2 separate regions of the Homo sapiens genome follow, and region 2 is linked to region 1. The links are contacts of gene promoters, found by promoter capture Hi-C in blood cells and fetal thymus (Javierre and others, 2016). All regions are on one chromosome and are shown on one strand. Each heading gives the region's core, a stretch centred on a gene start or on the middle of the fragment in contact. The rest is flanking DNA. Distances are from core to core; before and after follow the strand shown. Region 1 holds the start of GNRH1 (gonadotropin releasing hormone 1). Region 2 overlaps DOCK5 (dedicator of cytokinesis 5).

Region 1 (5,210 bases), core at 1,728-4,227:
TTTGTTAGTTATCCCAAAAGCTAGAACCAGGATTAAGAGATAAAAGTTACAGAGAGATTTCAATTCAACTTCAGAAAAAACAAACAAACAAAAAAACGTTTCAGCCCCTAGTGCTGTCTAACCACCAACTGGGATTGTCATGAAACACGGTCCTACCACAGGAGGTAACAGAGGAGTCAGGAATGTAAGCCCCACAGTATCTGGGAGGTAGCTGTCCTAAGTGATCCCCAAAGGCTTATCCACCTCTAGAGCTCTATGCTGTGATCATGTTATGATCACTTTAACTTACCAGAGCTCCTTTCAGGTCTCGGAGGGGAGAACGTGGCTGGTGCGTGGTGCATTCGAAGCGTTGGGTTTCTGCCAGTTGACCAACCTCTTTGACTATCTGAAGAAAGAGAATGTGATGCTTTGAGATGGAGATAAAGAAATGAAATGGTGTTTTCCATTTCCACCAAAAAATTGTGGAGAGTGGGGTCAAGGGGGATGTGGGGCTGGGGGAGATTGGGAAAGTTGCAGGATTAGCATAGGGACTTTAAGGACACAGATCTGCCATCTGACATTTCTACTGAATGGCATGGGGATCTGGAGATAATGGAGACAGTAAGAAGATATCATATTTTCCCCTTAAAGATGAAAAGAGGGAGGCACTTTGAGCCTCATGAGAGTCAGTATACCCAAAAAAACAAAAAGCAAAAAACCCCCAAGAGTTTATAGTTGTAAAAAAAGGTTGGTTTTTATTTTCTAGGTTTTACTAAATATGTTATAGTTCAATGAGATTTGCTTCATGTATAACCTGCAGAGAAGAGGCTTCAGATTCTGGGTCTTCTTTAATACTAAATTATCTTTATTATTTCTCAGAAAAGAGATAATTCCTTCCAATGATAATGAAATGATTTAAAATTTTTCCCATTCTCAGTCCTAGGTTATTTTTCAGGTTAATCAGCTAACATAGATGGCTTCTTTCCTTACATGACCCTGATGAGTGGTCATATTTTATAAACAAAAATCCTCCCGGCACTTTGGGAGGCCAAGGTGGGAGGATCCCTTGAGCCCAGGAGTTTGAGACCAGCCTGGGCAACATAGGGAAACCCCATCTCTATAAAAAGTTTTAAAAATTAGTTGGGTGTGATAGTGCATGCCTGTGGTCCCAGCTATGCAGACGGCTGAGGTGGGAGGATCACTTGAGCCCAAGAAGTCAAGGCTGCAGTGAGCTGTGATCGTGCCACTAAATTCCAGCCTAGATAACACAGCGAGACCCTGTCTTAGAAAATAACCCCAAAAAACAAGAAAGCAAGTACCTCACGTTAGTGTTGGTGCCAGTCCTATAATCTAATCTATATGAATTTAAATCAGCATGTTTTCTACTACGTTATCTTATCATCTTGAGTTTGCTAATTCCTGTATTCTACCAGTCTCCAACTTTGCTTAAATGCCCCTATCAGTGAAAAGAAATTATAGGGCATGCATCCTTGATAAGGATACTCATTTATAAATTATAAAAATGTACTGATCTAATAGCATAGATATGTTTAAAAGATGAAATGAGGAAAAAAAAAACGAAGTTCTAACGTTTTTTCCAAATCCCAAAGAATCATCTTCTGATACAGACCTTGACCCTATCCCATTGTTTCTAATTCCTTTAGCAATCCCATACACTCAGAGTATGACGTGCTGTCTCACACTTGTTGCTATTAATATATTCTTTTGGAATTTTTCCAGCTCTTTGTTTAGTCCCTGTGTGAACTGAAAGTAGGAATGGGACTTCTACTTTGTAAGTGCCTTATCTCACCTGGAGCATCTAGGGTACAACATCATAGAATATTGACATTGGGGCTATCCTGAATGTTTAATATAGTTAAATTGAATAAAATCACTATGTCTTATTTTGAAGCTGAGAGAAACTTACCTCTTGGAAAGAATCAATCAAATTTTCGGCATCTCTCTTTCCTCCAGGGCGCAGTCCATAGGACCAGTGCTGGCTGGAGCAGCCTTCCACGCACCAAGTCAGTAGAATAAGGCCAGCTAGGAGTTTTTGAATTGGCTTCATTCTAAGGCACATGAATGCACAATCAAATTAGATCCAGACAAGGTTGAGTATAAACTAAAAGACCTCTTTAGTGAAAAAGCTAGCATCTGTATCACTAACCCTGCAGAAGATGGAAGTCAGAGTCAGTTTTTACATACAGACACTGAAACTCAGAGACACTTGCTGGCTTGCCTTTAGTTTCTTAGCCACTGGGGACAAAATGAGTACTTAAGCTCACATGTTCAGGACCTTTTTAGTACTAAAATAGTCTATACTTTTATTTTTATTGTTTGGTTATCCAAACCCCATAATTCATCCCTTATCAAGTTCATCATTTTGCCTTAACATTTCCCCTGTTGTGGATTGGTCTTCAACTCTTTCATTCCTGAGATAAAGAGAACTGAGTCATCTGTTAAGAAAAGTAGCTCCTACTAGGAATCTCTGGCTAATATAAAATTGCTTGACATTACATGGCTACCCCATGGTACTAATGACATTTTTCTATTTATCCTTCAGTCTTCCTAGCATTACTGCTGGCTGAACCATCTGTGGGAGAGAGGACTCAACACTGTTCAAAGTAGTTAGTCCCAGACCAGATGCCTTCCTAGCCAAGGGGGCCTCTAATTTTCTAATGAAATGTGTCTCCAAGTTAATTTTCATTTGATGGGAAAGAGGCTAAAAACTAAATCAAACACTGGTCGATAAGCTGTGGGAGTCCCCAAAGCCTGGATCTCTGTGGCTGGTGATGGCAAGGACAGTGAAGGACAGGACATCATTAGATACCGTCACACCTGGATTTAGCCCTTGGGCTGTCAAATGCCCTGTAGACATACAATAGCATGCAATCTAAAGAAGAAAAACTCGTGCTAGAAATAATACAAAGCCTTTTACCTGTTTAGAGGCAGAGAGCCAAAAAGATCCCAATCTTCCCTTGAAGTAGGTTGAGTACTGTGACTTTTCTGTTTTCCTATCTTCCTTTTTATAGGGAATTTTTCCAGGACATTGAAATCTTTCCTGCTGGTAAATTATACTGCAAATGGACTATGCTTTTTTTTTTTTAATGGTAATTTTTAAAAATCCTCACATAAAGCCCTTTAATGGTGTATGTAATTGGAACACCCCCTGGTATATCTGTTAGATTTACTTAAGTGCAGCCATTAAAACCTCAGCTAAAACTTTTATAGCTGAGGACACAATTCAAAGAGATTAAAATCCAGCTAGATTGGATTCCCTTGAGGAAACCAGCAGACCTATCAAGAGTTCAAGGAAAATAGATGTCTTAGATTAAGTGAAGTCAAATGCATACATAACTTCCACAAAGGAGGCTATACAACAAATATAGGACATTGAGTCAGGATGTCTGGGAGCTTCTGGCTCTTGGATTCTTCATTTGTAAAAGGAAGGGTGTAGACTAGATGGACTAGATGATCACAGAGTTGCTTCCAATTTTAAAAATCTGATTTACAAGTAAGTGACACTATATACCAAGTCCATGTAGGATCCTAAATCAGACAGTTGTGTGTTTGAAAATTCCCTCATCTACCCACCAGGTTCCCTGCTTGACTTACCTTGAAAGCCTTCTAAAGCATCAAAAAGGCAAGAAACATATTCTGAGAGCAAGACCATATTGAGCAGACTTACATCAACAGATCAACTCATTTCAGTAGATGCTTATTGAGTTAAATATGCAAATCACTCTTAAGGGCAGTGGGAACAGAAAGATGAGAAATTATAGTTATTTAATAAATAGCAAATGTATAAGAGCATTCATTACAATAGCCATGCAAAGTGGGTATCATTATCTAAATTTTATAGATGTTCCACCCCAGAGGTGCAACCGTGGACGTGTTATTTACACAGGACAAGCATGTAAAATACACACACAACCATTACTCTTAATTACATTTATTTGAATACATGGTTGTCTTCCCCTAATTTACCCCTAGGCTGAAACCTGTAATAGTCAAAGATCCCATCTTATTTAAATCTCTCTTAATAAACCCCCGGCATTTAGTGAGCATTCAGTAAGTATAGGTTTGAATGAATGAATGAACGAATGAATGAATAGAAAGCAAAAAGCTTTTAACCAGGTAAGGCCTAATGCTGCCTCTATTTCTGCATCAAAGATATGCTTTATCTGACACAGAATTAAACTTTCATGTATAATTGGCTGTAAATCCTGTTATATTAGCTAAGCTGTAAGATGGCTAAAAAAAATAACTGGATATTTGTTCATTTTACAGCTGGGAATGGCAATTTCCCCTCATGTAGGATGCTAAACCCATCAGTCATTGCACAGTCTCCTCTGGAATAACTACATTTGCAGGGATTTCAGAGTAAAGAGAAATGGTGTCTTACCTAAGTAAATTCCCTTGCTTTGTCCAGCCATCTCTGTGGAGGCTGTCCAGTCCTCATGATAGGATAGAGAAGGGAGTACACTTTAAAGTATAACTGCAAATAGAGGAGAATTTAAAAATAAAATGTAAGTATTTGACTTTGTTCCATTTAAATTATTTCATTTAGACACTTTGACTCATGTAAGTGCCATTCTGACATGAAGAGTGGAATCTCATCTCACTACAATATGCAAGTAGGGACAGACTGTTTTTCAACCAGAGTTCATTATGGTTGAATAGTGCTAGTTTAAATTGTCCAATTGGTTTGTGTTTGCTGAGAGATGTGCCTCTAAGTATTGCTTAAGTAGAAAATGTGGTCTCTGGATAGGACTAATGAAATGAGAGTTAAGACTTGTGATGCATATTGTCAGGTGAATCACTTATCTCTGGGTAGGTAGGCCTCACTGGATTTCTTGTAGGTTATTTCTAACAGTTGGGATTAAATTTTTGAAAAATGTTTTGAAATTATTAAGATGAACACAGCAATATTGTATTACTCAGCATTCTCTAGAGGGACAGAATACATACACACACACACACACACACAAACACACGCACATAGGAGAGTTTATTAAGTATTAACTCACACGATCCCAAGGTCCCACAGTAGGCCGTCCGCAAGCTGAGGAGCAAGGAAAGCCAGTCTGAGTCCCAAAGCTGAAGAACTTTGAGTCCAATGTTCGAGGGCAGGAAGCATCCAGCACAGGAGAAGGATGTAGGCTGGGAGGTTAGGCCCATCTAGACTTTTCACGTTTTTCTGCCTGCTTTATATTTGCTGGCAGCTGATT
Region 2 (5,210 bases), core at 1,890-4,389, 100 kb before region 1:
CTGCACACCACAAATCTCTGCTCGTTTGAGTGCCCTAAGGCTCTGTTTCTTCTCTCCCCTGTAGATAGGTAAGCAGCAGAAAACTGCTTTATGAGCCCTAATTATTACCTTTCCCCCTCTTTATGGAATAATCAGGTCTTATAGATCCAATTATTACTATATTTATACACATCTTGCAGTCTGAAAGATCCTGTGTGGACCTCAAAATACCAGTATTTCCCCTCTGAAGTATTACTGTTTCTTACTTCAGAAAATGCTAGAAATTCACAGTATCCCTATGCTCAGAATCTATGATAAACAGCAAGATGATCTGAGATTCTTTTGATTTGAAAATAGCTCAGTCTCCTTTGAATGAAACCTATACCAAATCTCACTCTCTAGTAATTTGTGCTGTGGAAAGTATAAAATTGAGCCTAATTCCATGAAATAAACCATGCTTGCAAAGTACTGTGTGTCTGTAAACTATTAATTTCTTACTATGACACAGGTATCCATTGCTATAGAAGAAGTCACACGCTGTCATATAAGATTTACCTTCCGACACAGGTCATCTCAGGAAAGTAAGTATTAAGACGTCTATGACATATTTCCACTTAAAAAAAATTTGCTCTGGCTTGACAGCCATCTTGTGAAGCTGGAGAACAAGATATTTGGAAACTAGAGACTTGGCAGCTGTATTTTGTAACTCACTGGTGCTAAGGAAATCAGCATAATGAATTTTGCTGGGCGTGCAAGGTCTGTGTTGTCACTCTATATTAGGATTTCCTCAAAATGTGTTTTGTGAACACTAATATTCTCAAAGACAGCAGTCCTCAATCTTTGGCACCAGAGACTGGTTTTGTGAAAGCCAGTTTTTCCAAGGACCAGGGGTGGGGTGATGGTTTCAGGGTAATTCAAGCACATTACATTTATTGTTTTCTTTATTCTTATTACATTGTAATATATAATGAAATAATTATACAACTCACCATAATGTAGAATCAGTGGGAGCCCTGAGCTTGTTTTCCTGCAACGAGACAGTTCAGATCATCAGGCATTAGATTTCCACAAGGAATGTGCAACCTAGATCCCTTGCATGCACAGGTCACAATAGGGTTCGGCTCCTGTGAGAATCTAACGCTGCTGCTGATCCAACAGGAGGCGGAGCTCAGGTGATAATGCGAGCAGTGGGGAGCAGCTGTGAAGACAGATGAAGCTTTGCTTGCTCCTCCGCCGCTTACCTCCTGCTGTGTAGCCCAGTTCCTAACAGGCCACAGACTGGTATGGGTTTATGGCTTGGGGTTTGAGGTCCCCTGCTCTAAGATGCTACTAGATGCTCTATAACAAAAAGTGTTGTATTTCACAATCAAATAGGTATAGGAAAGGCTATATATACATTGTATCTCCCTCCTAGACGTTCACAATGCGTGTTGCCATGTTGCAGTAGCAAGAAAACTCTTTATTCACTTGTCTCCCCAAATTATCATTTTTCTCATGAAAAAACTCTTTCAAGTCTTAGGTCACAGTTCTTGAAATGGCTACACTAAAGTGTAAGCAGAGAAGAAAATTGATTGTTTTCAGATTGATCACAAAATTTCTGGAATCGTCTTATTCTCATTTCGCACTGCATAAAAATGTAACCCCTCCTTCCAAAAATGCATGTGTTGAACACCATCTACACAACAGGCTGCAGGCGAGGCCCTGGTCTATGACAGCCAGCTGGACACTCCCACGCAGAGTCTTTGTGGTCTGGTTAGGAAGATGAACGAAAAAGTGGGTGGTTATGTACGGAATAGTATGATATGTACATTACAAGGGGCAAAGACTTGTAATGGAAGCGTAGCACAGCACCTTACCCAGTCTGGGGGATTTATGCATATGACCTCCTACATCTTAGCTGAGACTTGAAGGTGAGTAGAAATTAGCCCAGTGAAGGGTGATGGGAGAAGTGTGTTTGGAGAACCAAATGAACTCAGTATGGCTAAAGCAGGACCAGTGGAGCAATAATAGTATCAGGTTGAATCGTGTGAAATTGGCATTTTTTAGGTCTAAATGGCCAAATATCAGCCATTTCATATGGTTCTGCATAATAACTAACAATTGTCAATTAACAATTAACAAAGGTCAAGTTTGTATGAAGTATTATGTGAAGCTATATTTGTACATGGTCCTGTTTAGTATCCACAATAATATAACAAGGTACATTCTACTTTTATCTACATTTATACACAAAGAAACTAAGGCATGGAGAGGTTAGGCACTTGCCTGTGGTCACAAGGCTAGCATATGACCAGGCTGGGTTAGCACCCAGACAATCTGATTCTAGCTGGGCTGGAGCCGGATCATGAAGGCTGAAGATGTTTTTCAGCCATGTTAAGGAGGTGCAATTCAAGGGTGGTTTCTGGTTTTGAGGTTTTGGGAGGGGTTGGTCTATGTTCATAACAGCTTCACCCATAGTACTCCAACACTAGAATAGCCTAAATCCCCATCAATAGGAGAATGGATAAACAAATTGAGGTATGATCATACAATGGATGACTACTCCACCACTGTGGGGACCCAAGGGGCACAGCAGACCACAGAGCCGTGCCTATGATAAAAACAGGCCACAGGTTACCCTACTCAGAGCCACTGAAGCAGGGGACCCGGTGAGTTCAGAGACTGGCCCCGAAGACCAAGAGAGAGGAGCTCTGCCTCCTCATGAAGCTGCACCCTCCTCCCAGCTGCCACAGGGCATGCAGATCTTCTTTCCTGGCACTGGAGCTGGTATTCTGGGGAGGAAGGGTAAAGAAACTTTGGGCAGCACCATAAACCCTAGAGTAGAATAAATATCTTGCAGAGCCTGTTTTAGAGCAACATAAATTGAGATCTCTCATTCAAGTGTTTTGAAGCAGCGTGGTTGACATGATTGGATTGGACTTTGGAAACCTCATTCCAACATAGAGAATGTGTTTGGTGGGAGAGCCTAGAGACAGAGAGATGCGCTGGGAAGGTCTTGTAGAAATAAAGAGAAGAGGTGAGTGTGGCCTGAAGTCAGGAAGGACAGCAAGATGGAGAGAGAAGAGACAGGCTCCAGAGCTGTTTAGGACATGGAGTTGACGTGGGGTGGAGTTGGTGTCAACACCCACATTTCTGATTTGGATGACTGGGCAGATGCTAGTCTCATTTATTAGGGGATGTAGGAAGAGGAGAGCATACTTGGGGGTGCCAGGCAGTTTCAGTGGCACATGGTACGTGGCTTATTGCAGTTTGCTCAGTTGTGCTTATTAGAATATGGTTGAACGCTGCACCCCCGAGCAAAATGTGAAATCGTGTCATAGCCATCGCCTCCTGGTGTCTCTCTGCACTGCTCAGACATGTCTTTCTGCCTTTTCAGCCAGAGATAAATCGGAGCGAGCATTTGGGGTGGCCTTCGTGAAGCTGATGAACCCGGATGGCACCACTCTGCAGGATGGGAGGCACGATCTGGTGGTTTATAAGGTGGTGCTAACAGAAAATGGCTGAGAAAAATACTCCCTTTCAAATGAGCATTTAAGACTCCTTTCATATTTATTTGTACAAACATCAGAAACCTTTCTAGAGCTTTCTGTACTTGCCCATTAACATCTAGAAACCCAGAGGGCTCTGGGCCCTCCAGCTTTGTGGTTTCCCACCTGCTTTCTGGAGAGAGTGAGTTGCATTATTACTGAGTCTTCTAAGGAGGCTCTCACCTCCTTAGACCTCTCACGGGAGAGGTCCTGTGAATGGTGTTCCCTAGCAGTGAATGGTAAGGGGTCGGCCTCTCATGATCTGCTCTTTTCATCATCCTGCATGGCACATGGACAGGTGCACTGTTGGGCTTCAGTAGTGTGTGGTGGATATGGTTTTCCCATCACCATGAGCCACATACTATTTCTGTGCTCTGGGGGCCTTATTTCCTTCCCTGAAAGTTTTGTCTTTGTTCTTGCCTTCCAACTGATGCTGAGCTCCCACTTCTACTGAGATTTTAGAGTATAAAGTAGATGCTGGAAGATCTCATTTAGCCAACAATATCTGGGGATTTCCCCACAGTTGGCTGCTCTTTTGAGATGCATCTACCTGAGGAATATTTTTCTTAACATCTTAGTTTATGAATCATTTTGGAAGGGATGGCAAGCTAATTCTTCTTCCATCAACCCAATAAAGTATAATTGTCCCCATTTTTTAATTACACTTCAAGTTTTAGGGTACATGTGCACAACGTGCAGGTTTGTTACAGATGTATACATGTGCCATGTTGGTGTGCTGCACCCATTAACTTGCCATTTAACATTAGGTATATCTCCTAATGCTATCCCTCCCCCCTCCCCGCCCCCGCCACAACAGGCCCTGGTGTGTGATGTTCCCCTTCCTGTGTCCATGTGTTCTCATTGTTCAATTCCCACCTATGAGTGAGAACATGCGGTGTTTGGTTTTTTGTCCTTGTGATAGTTTGCTGAGAATGATGGTTTCCAGCTTCATCCATGTCCCTACAAAGGACATGAACTCATCCTTTTTTATGGCTGCATAGTATTCCATGGTGTATATGTGCCATATTTTCTTAATCCAGTCTATCATTGTTGGAATTGTCCCCATTTAGAGACTGAAGAAAATGAAATTTAACCTTATTCTGAAATATGTGTATTTACTCTAACAGAGACTAGGATATTCTGGTTTCTAGTTCACAACTTATTCTGTTTCCATTCAATCATGAAATTATTTCTGGGCTCAATGTTTACAGAAAGATATCAGAGTATCTCAGAGGTGGAAGGGATCTTCAGGATAAATTGATAAGTCCACGCTTCTCATGCTGAAAATGCATGATAGAAATTGTTTTTATTTGCATATAAGAGATTTTGGCCATCATTTGGTGTTCCTAACATGCTTCCTTTTAGGGTGACAACAAAAAAATGGAAGATGCTAAATTCTACCTGACCCTGCCTGGAACCAAGATGGAGATGGAAGAAAAAGAGCTTCAAGCATCCAAAAACCTGGTCACCTTCACCCCAAGCAAGGATAGCACTAAAGACAGCTTTCAGATTGCCACCCTCATCTGCTCCACAAAGCTCACCCAGAATGGTAGGAGTGGTGAATACACTGACACAAATAAGCTTCTTGCTCAGCCTTTCTGGGCTCCTTGGTTAGGCTCACAGGGCTGGACTATATGGGGCTGGGTCTTATTAGGTAGGATGTTGGCCAATTGGATTCTGCTCTCTGCTTTTCAAGTGGTATTC

The links. Contacts are between HindIII fragments. The CHiCAGO score rates a contact against its expected background, and 5 or more counts as called.
Region 2: a fragment that was not itself captured here is called in contact with the fragment with the promoter of GNRH1 in region 1 in 2 of 17 cell types (neutrophils and M2 macrophages); the score reaches 8.3 in neutrophils.

What each region holds. Positions count from the first base shown.
Region 1 is chr8:25,421,284-25,426,493 of GRCh38, forward strand. It overlaps GNRH1 (gonadotropin releasing hormone 1), which reads right to left and starts at 2,978. Exons shown (of 4, transcript NM_001083111.2): 1 at 2,918-2,978; 2 at 1,907-2,048; 3 at 290-385. The coding sequence starts at 2,047. The HindIII fragment of the contact is 12,746 bases long and covers 1-4,103 here.
Region 2 is chr8:25,320,493-25,325,702 of GRCh38, forward strand. DOCK5 (dedicator of cytokinesis 5) reads left to right here. Exons shown (of 52, transcript NM_024940.8): 16 at 488-560; 17 at 3,356-3,459; 18 at 4,872-5,055. Among named protein-coding and RNA genes, the nearest start is that of MIR6876, 22 kb to the right of the region's middle. The HindIII fragment of the contact is 3,892 bases long and covers 1,194-5,085 here.